Linked DNA regions of Homo sapiens: region 2 is linked to region 1. The links are contacts of gene promoters, found by promoter capture Hi-C in blood cells and fetal thymus (Javierre and others, 2016). All regions are on one chromosome and are shown on one strand. Each heading gives the region's core, a stretch centred on a gene start or on the middle of the fragment in contact. The rest is flanking DNA. Distances are from core to core; before and after follow the strand shown. Region 1 holds the start of ARHGEF33 (Rho guanine nucleotide exchange factor 33). Region 2 holds the start of MAP4K3 (mitogen-activated protein kinase kinase kinase kinase 3).

Region 1 (6,736 bases), core at 1,732-4,231:
CCTGAATTAGGGAAGTGACTCTTAGAAAGGAAAGGAGGGCACAGATAGAAGCGACATTTCAAAGGTTGCTCCATGAGCCAAATGTATGCTTCACCCAAGAAAAAGAGTTGGATAGTCACTCTCAGATTCAGAAGGAGGAAATATGTCATAAGATAATTTTTAAAATTACTCTAACTTATTTGAACCAGGAGACTAAAAGGAGGCTGAATATGCTATAATAATGAACTTGGTTCTACAATTTTAGCAGAGCCTTAACTTTTGTTTTTGTCAATTGGGGGTGCACTGACTAACTCTGCTAGGAGATGGGGAAAGCACATTTTAAAATGTCTCAAAAAAGAAATACAACCATCCTTTCTTTCCCATTGTTCATCCTTTGCCCGGGTGTTATGGTACTTAGCAGATGTCAGTTAGGTTTTTCTACTTTTCCCCAGTTATCTGTTTACCCACCTTTAGGCATCATCTCTACCCACCCCACCTACTCACACACTCCATAAAAAACCCAGTGAAAATTACGAGGAGGAGATTTTTTTAGAGAGCATAAGAATTTTCCAGTATTTGCTTCTTCATTGCTTGCTAAAACCATGCCAGCATAGCCTGGGGAAAGGTGGAAAGGGCTGGCATTGCCCCATATAAGGGAATTATATCCTCAAATCATTTGAGATAAGTAGGCCCCAAAGACAAATCCAAAACAGCTACTCCCTCATTCTCAGGAAATAAATTCTAGAGATTTCCTCAAATGGATAAATTTGAGAATCCGATTAGCTGCCACTTTTTCTTTATTTTTCTGATTATTTTAGGAAGACTCAAACAGATGTTAATACTTACTACCCTGTCTTTTTGTCAGTAAAGGCATGAACAGACAACAAAATAATCATGAACATACCAATCAGAAGAGTGCTCTCTGTAATATTAGCATTTATGATTTGTTTCGTTCATCTTATTTGGGGCATTCAAAGTGCTTTACAAATAACATAATGAGGGTTTTTTTTCCTTCCATGACTCCCAAGGTGATTCCTGGCACTCTCAAAAGGCACAAGTGATTAGTCAAGTCCTTGGGGCCCAGCAGCAGTAATGTGATGCATGTTGGTTAAACTGTGTTTCACACTCATGTAAATTGTGTGGGGGGCGGGTGGGGAATCTTCCACACTGTCCTTGAGAAGATTAGCAAGAATTATGAATTTAAAGATTCTTACATTTATAAAAATCCAAACAAAGAGAAATATTGAACAAATCATACTCCAGTCCTAAAATCAAAGTCTAAGGGTCTTAACCTGTGGTCCCAGGAATAGGGTTTCAGGTCACCTGTAAATCTTCTGAAATTGTATGCAAAATTTTGTGTGATTTTACTTTTTTTTTTGCAGAAATGGTGGACTGGTTTCTGAAGATTCTAAAAGCAATTCTTGACACCGAAAAGGTTAAGAACTGCTGTCATTAAAGAAAAAGAAAGGAAGGAAGAGGGAGAGAGGAAGGGAGGAAAGGAGAGAGGAAGGGAAGGAGGAAGATCAGTTGATCTTTGTATCTACATTACTTAGTTTATTACTGGCCTGCTATGTTGAAGTACACCCTTATACACAGAGAAAAGGGAAGGTAAATAAAGGGAATTAAGAAAAAGTTAACAATAAGGCCGAGCATGGTGGCTCACACCTGTAATCCCAGCACTTTGGGAGGCTGAAGTGGGAGGACTGCTTGAGATCAGGAGTTCAAGACCAACCTGAGCAACATGACGAAACCCCATCTCTACAAAAAATACAAAAATTAGCCGGGTGTGGTGGTGTGCACCTGTGGTCTCAGTTACCTGTGGGGGCTGAGGTGGGAGGATTGCTTGAGCCCAGGTGACAAAGTGAGACCTTGTCTAAAAAAAGAAAAGAAAAAAGAAAAAAAAAAAAACCAATAGTATGGTCATCTTGTTTCAAAAGCCTCTGAGTTTTCAAATGAGTTTAGATTGCATTTCCAGAGCCCATGGTTATGAAAAATGTAGACATTAATTAATTCAGTTTGTGAAAAATGTTTAGAATAAATGTGCATCAAAAACTTTTTTCTCTAGGATACATTTCTGATCATTATGTTGAATCCTTCAGAAGTAGCCTTCAATGAAATAGCTATTCCATTTACAGCAATATGATTTTGTATTAAAAGGGGCTATTAAAAATATAAAAGGGTGATATAGAGATTTCTACATATTCAGAATACTATTTCAGCATATAAAAACTCACATAATTCCAATACTAATTATAATAGAACGCTATTCTCACTTAAGACAATGTTTAAGTGAAACTCAGTTCTTCTCATTACACACCAAAGCCCCATGAAGTGTTTAGAATTAGGTTTCACCAATAAAGCCCCCATGTAATTAATCAGTACACATTTTCAATCAGGATATGTTTTTTGTTCTGTACATAGGGGAGTGAATGCTGAAGATTCCCCTATTCTTTTTCTGTGTTAGAAAGGAATAAACCAATCTCCCTCCATCCCTAATCTTTTTCATTCTTTAATTATTCTTAATCCCAAAGAGGCATGTCCATGTCAGATTTACGCTGTCTAGCATCCTTTCTTTAAGACTGCTCTCAAAATTTAACTCATCTTCAACTATATTTATTAATATGCAGAACAACTTCAGTCTCCAGTTTATCGATAACCTGCAAAGCGCAGTTAAGACATAATATAAAAATTAAGCAAGGAAATAAATGTTTTACAAATTGTTATAACTCTTAAATAAAAGTTATTTCTTTGAATGCCTACCTCAAATAAATGTTAGCATATATTGGATTTAAATTAGTACACCACGTGGTAAGGATTGATGGGTTTTCATCTCTTATAAAATTGTTTCCCCTTTCAGTGCCCCTTAAAGCATATAAAAGCGCATACTTACCCCATGTTGCCTGCGGTGGTTATATCATCCTCAGATCAAGGCTTATCTGGGTTCTGAATTAACTTAAAGGTTATAAAAAGAAGCAGTAGAGAGGCTTGACTTCCCCTGAAACGAGACCGTAGTATGCTAACCAGGCTTTTAAATGAGGAAAACTAGTGTCTCTTCTAATTATATAAGCTCCAGGTCAAATTCTAGCATCAACTAATCAAATAACTGAACTGCATTTAGTTTCAATGAGTAAAAAGGAAGAAACCCATTTAGGAGGAATATCTTTGGTATACTAGAAAATTGAAAAGTTGTACTTTGAAAAGTTATTAACATAGCAATACAAGTTAAATATTTTAAGAGTAAAATATATATCTTGCTGCCTTAAATAAATTGAAAAAAATTAGGGAAAATTTATTTTGCAGCAAAGCAGATACTTTTCTATATTTTCCAGAAGTTTTTGAATTTAAATTATATGTCCTGGTCCCTGAAAACATCTTCTCACCTTATCTTAACTTGTCCAGTATTTGTCTCTTCATGAATTTCCATATAATAATAATATTTAATTCTAAAGCCATGCCAGCTAATGTTTAGCAACATATACAAAAATGTCCAATTCTTAAAATGTGTCTTTGAAAACTTACAAATAGGGTCTTTCAAAATTAGCCATAAAGCTATTATTATGAGAAACTAACAAAAATGCCATTTTTATTTTAACATTTTAGAAGACATTGTAACCCAAATTTGTGCCAGTACAGCAAAAAATAAAAATATACATCTTTTGGCAATAACATATTGAGAAATACAAATATTCACAAGATTTTGAATAGAGAAATATGACAAAGAAGTTATCTATTGTGTACACTATTTTTTGTCAGTTTTAGAATATAGAGTTTCAGCAAAAACATTCAGGTCTTTATTGTAATTTTTTAAATGTAGTTGACATATACTGCTCTGGTAATTTTTAAATTATCTTATGTAAAAAGTAAAGAAGTTTTCTGGACATAGAATATATGACAACACACAGATCTACTTTTTAAGAAATTGAGACATAATTTACACATCATACATAAAATTTGTCCCTGTTAAATGAACAATTCAGTGGTTTTTAGTACATTTTCAAGACTGTGCAACCATCACCACTGTCTAATTCTAGAAACCTCATGCCTCCCAATTTCTTCCTCCCCTGGCAACCACTAATCTATTTTCTGTCCCTAAGGATTTGCCTATTCAGAGCATTTCACATAAATGGAATCATATAATATGTGGCCGTTTGTGACTGGTTCCTTTCACTTAGTACAATGTTTGTTTGTTTGTTGTTTTTGAGATGAAGTTTTGCTCTGTCACCCATCCTGGAGTGCAGTGGCATGATCTTGGTTCACTGCAACCTCTGCCTCCTGGGCTCAAGCAGTCCTCCCAAGTAGCTGGGACTATAGGCATGTGCCACCACACCTGGCTAATTTTTGTATTTTTTGTAGAGATGGGATTTTGCCATGCTGCCCAGCCTGGTCTCAAACTCCTGGCAAGCGATCCACACACCTTGGCATCCCAAAGTGCTGGGATTACAGGATGAGCCACCTGCCTGGCCAGTACAATGTTTCTGAAGTTCATCCATGTTGTAGTATCAGTACTTCATTTTTTATGGCTGAATAATATTCCATTATGTGGACATTTTGTTTACACATTCATTAGTTGATGGACATTTGGATTGTTTCCAGTTGGGGCTATTATACATGTCTTAGTCCATTTGAACTGCTATAAGAAAATACCTTAGACAGGGTAATTTTAAACAACAGAAATGTATTGCTCACAGTTCTGGAGGCTGTTAAGTCCAAGATCAAGGCACTAGCAGATTTAGTGTCTGGTAAGGACTTGCTCTCTTCTTCAAAGATGGCACCTTCTTGCATCATTCTCTTGTGACAGAAGAAGCAAGCAATCTCCTTCACATCTCTTTTATAAGGGCACTAATCCCATCCATGAGGGCTCTGTCCTTATAACCTAATCACCTCCTAAAGGCCTCAACTCTTAATACTACCACAGTAGAGATTAGGTTTTTGTTGTTGTTGTTGTTGTTTTTAGACAGAGTCTCACTCTGTTGCCCCTGCTGGAGTGCAGTGGCGCCATCTTGGCTCACTGCAGACTCCACCTCCCAGTTTCAAGCAATTCTTGTGCCTCAGCCTCCCGAGTAGCTGGGATTACAGGCACACACCACCACGCCTGGCTAATTTTTGTATTTTTAGTGGAGAGGAGGTTTCACCATGTTGGCCAGGCTGGTCTCAAACTCCTGACCTTAAATGATGCACCCACCTTGGCCTCCCAAAGTATTGGGATTACAGTCGTGAGGAAATTAGGTTTAAACATGAATTTTGGAAGGACACATTCAGACTATAGCAATGAATAATGTTGCTATGAACATTCGTGTGCAAGTCAATTCCCTTGCGTACATACCTAGGAACTGCTGAGTCACGTAGTAACTCTATGTCTAATATTTTGAGGAAATGTATTCCACAGCAGCTGCACCATTTTATATTCCCACCAGAAATGTGTGAGGCCTCCAATTTCCCCACATCATTGCCAATCTTTGTATTGTCTGTTTTTTTTTTTTGATATAGCCATCCCACCAAACAATGCATGTTCTCACTTATAAGTGGGAGCTGAACAATGAGAACACATGGACACAGGAGGAGAACAACACACATGTTGTGGAAGTGGGGGAAGAGAGAGCATCAGGAAAAATAGCTAATGCTTGCTGGGCTTAATACCTAGGTTATGGGTTAATAAGTGCAGCAAACCACCATGGCACACATTTACCTATGTAATAAACCTACACATCCTGCACATGTACCCCAGAACTTAAAATAAAATAATAATAATAATAATAGCTATCCCAGTTGGTGTGAAGTGGTATCTCACGGTGGGTTTGTAGGTTTAAGGTTCATTTCCCTGAAGAGTAAGGATGTTAAGCATCTTTTTGTTTACTTATTGGCTACTTGTATATCTCCTTCAGAGAAACATCTGTTCAAATTCTTTGACCTTTTTTTTTTTTTTGAGATGGGAGTCTCGCTCTGTTGCCCAGGCTGGAGTGCAATGGCGCGATCTCGGCTCACTGCAACCTCCGCCTACCATGTTTAAGCGATTCTCCTGCCTCAGCCTCCTGAGCAGGTGGGATTACAGGTGCCCGCCATCATGCCCAGCTATTTTTTGTATTTTTAGTAGAGATGGGGTTTCACCATGTTGGCCAGGCTGCTCTTGAATTCCTGATCTCAGGTGATCTGCCTGCCTCGGCCTCCCAAAGTGCTGGGATTACAGGTGTGAGCCACTGCCCCCCGCCCATTTTAAAAATTAAGGTTTTTTTAATTGTTGGGTTGTAAAAGTTCTTTATACATTTTGGAAACTAGACTTTGTATCAGTGTCATAATTTTTATTGCTATGGTTTCTGGAAATCTGGAGGTAGCAGTGAGCTCAACCAGTGGGGTGGGGGTGAGAGAGAAGACCACAGGACTACACCTTTATTAAGGTCCACGGATGTTATCCCTTAGGCTTTCCCTCTGGGGTTGTGGATTGGCTAGTTTAAAGAAAACATGTGGAAAGGGGGAACTTATTTTTGCATGACTTATTTTGACCTTTAGGTTTTATCATGGTCAGCACCTGTGGGATGTGTTGGGTTTTGGGTCAGCAGGGTAAGGAACAAGTGGGCTGTATTGCAAACAACTACAAGGGGAAGGAAAGTTTTAACTAGGCCAAGAGTAATGGGATATGACTGGATGTCAGACAACTTATGTCAGGCCTAAAAATGGATGCTGAGGCAGTGACTATATTAAGCAAATTTCTGACAATCAGATATGATTTGCAAGTATATTATCCCATTGTGAGGATGGTATT
Region 2 (6,449 bases), core at 2,109-4,608, 550 kb before region 1:
ACTGCAACCTCCACCTCCCGGCTCAAGTGATTCTCCTGCCTCAGCCTCCCGAGTAGCTGTGATTACAGGGGACGTGCCACCGCGCCCAGCTAATTTTTGTATTTTTAGTAGAGATGGGGTTTCACCATGTTGGCCAGGCTGGTCTTGAACTCCTGACCTCAGGTGATCCACCCGCCTCGGCCTCCCAAAGTGTTGGGATTACAGGCATGAGCCACTGCGCCCAGCCAAGGGGTCATTCCTAAATCTTCCTCCCGTCTGCATTAATGTCCCTTCTCTGTGCTTCTCACACTATTTATGAGACTGTCAACTCCTTGAGGGAAGGCATTGTGGCTTTTCTTTTCTGTATTCAATACCACCAGAATCTAATAATCATTGCCTCTAAATACATTACAGGGAGGTAGAGGTTGGCTTACCATAAGAGAAATTTTTTACAGTATATTGTATATAAGCAGAGTATAGACTAGTGGCTAAGAATCTAGCCTTGGTGTCATACTGCCTTTGTTCAAATTTCAGCCTTCTGTGTTACCTTGAGCAGTTTAATCTGTCTGTGCCTCATAAAATGGAGATAATATTACCTATGTCATTAGGTTGTTGTGCGAATTAAATGAAATAACACATGAAAAATACTTGGCTCCATTCCTGGTATCTTGTAAGCACTTAGCAATGTTAGAAATTACTACTTTTCTCCTAGTTATTATGATCATTTACTAGCACTGTATCACAACGAGGTGGGTTGTTTTGGGAAGCAATGAGTCACCTTTTATTGAAAGTATTCAAGCAGCAGCAAATCCAGCAGAGATGCTGTAGAAGCAGTTCCTGAGTTAAAAAGATTAGATGACTTCTAAGAATGCTTCTAATCATAGAAGAGGGAAGCTCTTTCTCTGATTCTAGGAAAGTGTGATCATTAGTGTTACTTCTAGCAAAACTGAGGATTGTTAGAACAGGGGGAAAAGGCACTGGAATTGGCCACATGCATATATTACAAAAAACAAAATATTTTCTTTGTGAGCAGTTGTTTTACTTATGTTGTAACCCACATGGCAAATCAGGCCCTTACATGGAAATTCATCTCTTCTCAAAAGGACTAGCTTGGCCCTGCCAAAATGGAACAGACAAAACTTTAAAGACTGTTCTAGCCCTACTGAAATGTCTTTTCCTTTTGAAAGCAGTCTATTAGTGATGCAAATGCAAAGTTATTTGGACAGACGATAATCTCAGCAAACAAAACACTGAAGTCATTAGAACTTTCTTGTGCAGCTTTCAGTCCTGAGAATTTGGCTTTCTGGCACTAAAAAGGCAGAGGCCGGGTGCAGTGGCTCATGCCTGTAATCCCACCACTTCAGGAGGCCGAGGCAGGCGGATCATCTGAGGTCGGGAGTTCAAGAGCAGCCTGACCAACAAGGAGAAATCCCATCTCTACTAAAAATACAAAAATTAGCTGGGTGTGGTGTTGCATGCCTGTGATCCCAGCTACTTGGGAGGCTGAGGCAGGAGAATCGCTAAGAACCCGGGAGGCAGAGGTTTCAGTGAGCTGAGATTGCACCCTTGCACTCAAGCCTGGACAACTAGAGCGAAACTCCTTCTCAAAAAAAAAAAAAAAAAAAAGGCAGAGGAAAAGAGCAGACCTGGCTTCCATTTGGGATAATTTGTCAGGTCTGCTTATCTGAATCCTTGGCTAATTATTCTTGCGCTTGGCCTAAACATGCCAAACAATTCTCCAAATGTGGACAAACTGAAGGAAGGCCTGTAATCTGGGTCCTGGGCAAGTACCTTAAACAAGCAAAAGCAAGACCTTTGGCTATGGAATAACATTTATAGTCAGGAGTTTCTCAAGATACCAGAGCCTGAAGGTAGATCCATCGAGAAGATATTCAATGATATGCACTCCTAAGGCAATAATTTAAGTGATACTTTCATATTACTGATGCTTTAAAATTTAATAATTAAAAATTACACAACTGAAAGGCTACTTATATAGGTGAAGAGATAACCATTTTCAAACATCAATTTAGTCAACAGATACTCAAAGTAAACAATTTGAGAATTTAGTACATATGCAATTTTCCTATGAGCAAAAGGATTCAAAAGATTTTTTGAAAAAGTATGAAGCAGTTAACTCTAAGTAGTTTGCTCTACTATTAATTTATTATACTTATCCTTAACAGGTTTGATGAGACCTAGTTTCTCAGGAGCCACGAGGTATTAGGGAATATTAGTGGTTAGAAGGTGTGGTGCCTAAGGGGATTAGGAAAGCATTTCTGAAGCAAAACTCCAACGTGGTATTGCCAAAGTGGCCATCACCTAATTGATTAAAGCTCCTGCAAATGTCTATTGGGAAGTTCAATGAGAACAGAAAAATAACCTTCCATTACCCTCAAGCTTTCTTGGGCAAGTATTAACAATCGGAGCTGGAGTCCACATAGCTCAGATGTAAGACGCGCAATCTGGGTCTTAAGCAGGGTGGGGTTTTTGGGTAGGTAAGGTCACAGCTAAAGAGCTTCCGGATCGTCACGTGTTTATATTTCAGGTGCGGTAATAGATCTAGTCCACTCTCCACCCCTTCTTTACAGGGTTGCTTGACAGCCTGCGCAGTCCCCGCCCGTCTTTGATAATCCAACCCTCTTCGAAGAGGGAGGTCAATCACTGCTTTAGTTCTGCGCTCTGCCTGCCTCCCACGCGGGATGGTGGGCAGCTGTTCCGCGTGTTTTCCTCCCGGAGCTTTCACGCTCTGCCCACTGCACACACCTCCCTCGCGGCCCTCCTGGCCTGCCCTCCTTTGCACCCTGGCAGGCCAACTCCAAGGGTCCGAGTGTCGGTGACAGGGGCAAGCAAGCACAGCTCACTTTTCCTGGGGGTTTTCCTCACGGTGTGTTTAGTGACCCCTCCCCGCAATCCCAGAAAGGCTGCAGCACTCCATGGTATCCTACATGTAGCTGCTTCTAAAATAATAAAGGCTGGGACATTGGCTGTCTTGGATATTACCACTATGCTACCTGCTTGGAACTGGGACCAGATAGACCAAGGTCCAACTTTGTCGTTAGGGGAATCAGAAACGAAAAGAAGCCACTTTCTGCTAGTCCTAACCCCGGTCCCTGGGCCAGGCAAACCTTTTCAAGCGTCCGGCGGCAGCGGCCGGGCGCGGGTCCGCAGAAAAGCCGAGGCGTTTCGGGTCCCAAGCTGTTCCGCCGCCGGCCCCGGCCTGGCAGGCGCGCGGAGCCGGAACGCGCAAGGGGTCGGGTGCGCGCCAGGCCTGGCGCGCTCCCTCCGGGATCGCGGCTGCGCAGTCGGGCGGGAGTCGGGAAAAGGGGAGGAGGTTGGAGGAGCCGGAGTAAGGGGAGGGGGAGGAGCGGCGAAAGCGGAAGCCATGTTGGAGTTTCACCCCGAGCGAGGGGCTGCGAGGGTTCTCCTCTCCTTGTGGGTGTGACCAGGTTCGGCGCGGCGGCGGGCCGCGGGGGGCGGGGACGATTGGCCGCTTGTCGTCGTCCGCAGCGGCGTGAGGGGAGCGGCGGCGGCGGCGGCGGCCGCAGCGTGGAGCCGGGTGATTGTGACCGCCGGGGGAGCCGGGAGCCGGCCGCGGCGCCCTCTCTCCGTGTGGCCCCCTGAGCGGCCCCCCTCCCCTGCCCGGGAGGGAGGCGGGGGGCACCTGGGGCCCGCCATGAACCCCGGCTTCGATTTGTCCCGCCGGAACCCGCAGGAGGACTTCGAGCTGATTCAGCGCATCGGCAGCGGCACCTACGGCGACGTCTACAAGGTAAAGGCAGGGGCCGCGCGCCGCCGAGGCCGTGGGATCCCGACCCGCAGCCAAGCCTGGGCGTCCGAGCCCTTGCCGCCTGTCCTCGGGAGACGCTGGCGCCAGGGAGCAGTCGGGGAGGAGGAGCTGCGGACGCCAAGGGCTCTGCTGCCTTGGTGAACAAAGGGCCGAATGTTTAACCCCGAGACCTCCCCAGCCCTTACCTGAGCCCCCCCGGTGGACATGATTTTTGCCACCTCCCTTCTTGCGCGCATTTCCAGGGAAGGGCAGAACGAGAGCAGGCCACACTGCTCATCCATAGTGCAGAGAAGGTCTGGGCGTTTGTTGCGTTGGCAGGGTCAGCGCGACGAACCGGACAGCAGGGGTCTGGTGTTGTCAAACCTGCCTGCTTCACGCCAACCTGGGGTCGTCCGCTCTAGGTTGGGAGCTGCTGCCCACCAGGCCTCGGTGGTAGTTATTATACTATGCTGAGCGACCTCCATCTTCCATCGACAGCTCTCAGCCTTTAGCGCCTTATTCATCCCCCTGTCAGTTTCTTTTAATTTTCCAGAGTAATGACTTTTTTTTTTTTTTGGAAAGAGCAACTTTGTTTTCTCTAAGTCGAATTGGACTGCGATGCCATTTAAACTTGTTTTTTAAAAAGTGACTTGAATACTTAGGGAAGGTACTGGTTTGACAAGGTTAGAATTCAAAGTCCAGTAGCGGTACAGCATTCCTGTTGTAGAGGGACCACTTCTAAATGTGGGAAGATAAATCACTCTTCCCTGGCCAACTCAACTCTTGGCCTCACAGTTACTGCCAAGAAGAGAGGAGGTTGTTGCCAAATGTGGCAGCAGTCTTGATTTAGTTGTGTATCTTCTTACTGGTAACTGAAGTTGAACTCCTCCAGTTTCACATAACACCTGAGGATGCACAAAGAAACTTAATTTTGCATTGGAAAGTTCAGTCTTAACTTTATTTTGCCCATGTTTAAGCAGGTTTTTACTCTTCAGTGTAATGCCTGTGGTAACTTACATATTTAATACAGTGCAGCCAGTGTTCTGCTTTAGTCTGATTTTCTGGATGATCTACTTTTCACCATCGTGGATCTCATCACTTTTCCTACTATGCAATATAGATATATTGAGCCCACCTACAATGTATGAGATACTTGGCAAGTAAGCACTTTGGGTTGTAGCAGTAAACGATAGACTTGGTTCCAAATCTTCCTAAGTGTTTCTATTTTTTTGGACAAGGACAGTATTAAATAGCCATTTAAATAATTATTGCCGTTTAATTTTGTGATGCAGAAAAGAGTATTAGGATCAGGGTTATGAGAGCATGTAATAGGAGGACCTGATCCTGTTTAGGGTATCAGACGCTCATCGCCTTTCAGCTGAGATCTCAGAGATGATTAGGCGTTGCTTAGGGTACTGGGGAGAGGGGATTACGCCAGATAGGGGAGCATGATATGTGAAGGCTCTGAGGCCCGATGTGAAAGAAGGCCTGTATAGCCTGAGCAGCCAGAGCGGGAGGGTGGCCCTAGATCTTGCAGGCCTCTTAGTTCTCATTAGGAGATCGGACTTGTTTAGGACAATGGGGAACTATTGCAGGCTTTTAAGCAGAGGAGTGACATTAGATTTAGGTTTTTAAAAGAGCTCCCTACTACAGCATGAAGAGTGGAATGGAGCAGTTGGGAGGCCACTGTGATAGTCTAGGTAAGAATAATGGTGTTAAGGAATATGGTGATGACTGTGAAAGTAGAAGTGGATGGATGCAAGTCACTTATGACTGGTTGGGGGAGTTCGCTTATATTGCGATGAAAAGTTAACTAAAACTCGATGAATGTATACGTTTTAGGTGGCAGGGTATACAGTGAATTTTTTTACAGGACTAATTGGCTGTGTACTTGCTATATTAAAAAGAACAGTTAGTAGTTAAGCCACATGATTAAAAAGCAAAAAAAAATTAGGGCCTGTAATTTCCTAAGTGTAATAGAGGTATACTAAGTTGGTTAATCTTGTCATTCGTTTAAAATAATGATAATACTAGCTGATGTTTATGGAATGCTTGTTACTTGCCAGGCACTATAAGATTTTTCTAATTAATCCTAACAGCAACCCTGTGAGATAGGTGCTATTGTTAACTCCATTTTGCAGTTGAATAAACTGAGGCACAAGGAGATTAACTTGCCAAAGTTGGTAGGTGGCAAAGCCAAAATTTGAACCAATTAGGGACTGTATTCTTAACCAATTGGCAGTGCTGCCTCTCTAAAGATAGGAGATGGGCAGATAATGTATTACATTTCCAGTGGAGAAACTGAGGCACACATTTAGTTTAGCATTTGAGTTGTAGCCACACTCTGAGTCAGTGTAGATCTTTAAGTAGTAGTTGGAATACCTAATTCCTGCTGTGCCACAAGGTCTCACTGTTTATGTAGTCTGCCAAGTGGATATCAGATAATAGATGCTTGGTCCCTGCCTGCCAGACTCTTCCAATACCAGTGACCAAAGCAGAGAAACTTCATGTGGTTCTTGACATCATGTACCCCTGCCTGCCAAACTCTTGTTTATGTTTTTGTCTATAATCAAGTTTATTCTATAAAGTTACATTTTTTTGTTATTTGTTTTGCTGTTTTAGTTTTTTCTTATTTATACAAATTAATTGTGCTAGAGAGAAGTACATTTTGTTTTCAAAAGCCAATATATATAATTTGTTC

What was found. The method cuts DNA at HindIII sites, captures the fragments that hold promoters and counts their contacts. A CHiCAGO score of 5 or more calls a contact.
Region 2: the fragment with the promoter of MAP4K3 here is called in contact with the fragment with the promoter of ARHGEF33 in region 1 in 13 of 17 cell types (naive CD8 T cells, neutrophils, total CD4 T cells and 10 more); the score reaches 11.6 in naive CD8 T cells.

Annotation. Positions count from the first base shown.
Region 1 is chr2:38,886,120-38,892,855 of GRCh38, reverse strand. ARHGEF33 (Rho guanine nucleotide exchange factor 33) reads right to left here and starts at 2,981. Exons shown (of 18, transcript NM_001145451.5): 1 at 2,870-2,981. The HindIII fragment of the contact is 7,511 bases long and covers 1-6,736 here.
Region 2 is chr2:39,434,194-39,440,642 of GRCh38, reverse strand. It overlaps MAP4K3 (mitogen-activated protein kinase kinase kinase kinase 3), which reads left to right and starts at 3,358. Exons shown (of 34, transcript NM_003618.4): 1 at 3,358-3,751. The coding sequence starts at 3,656. MAP4K3-DT (MAP4K3 divergent transcript) reads right to left here and starts at 3,227. Exons shown (of 6, transcript NR_037875.1): 1 at 3,108-3,227. RefSeq lists silencers at 3,105-3,324, 3,395-3,754 and an enhancer at 4,085-4,164. The HindIII fragment of the contact is 5,405 bases long and covers 2,382-6,449 here.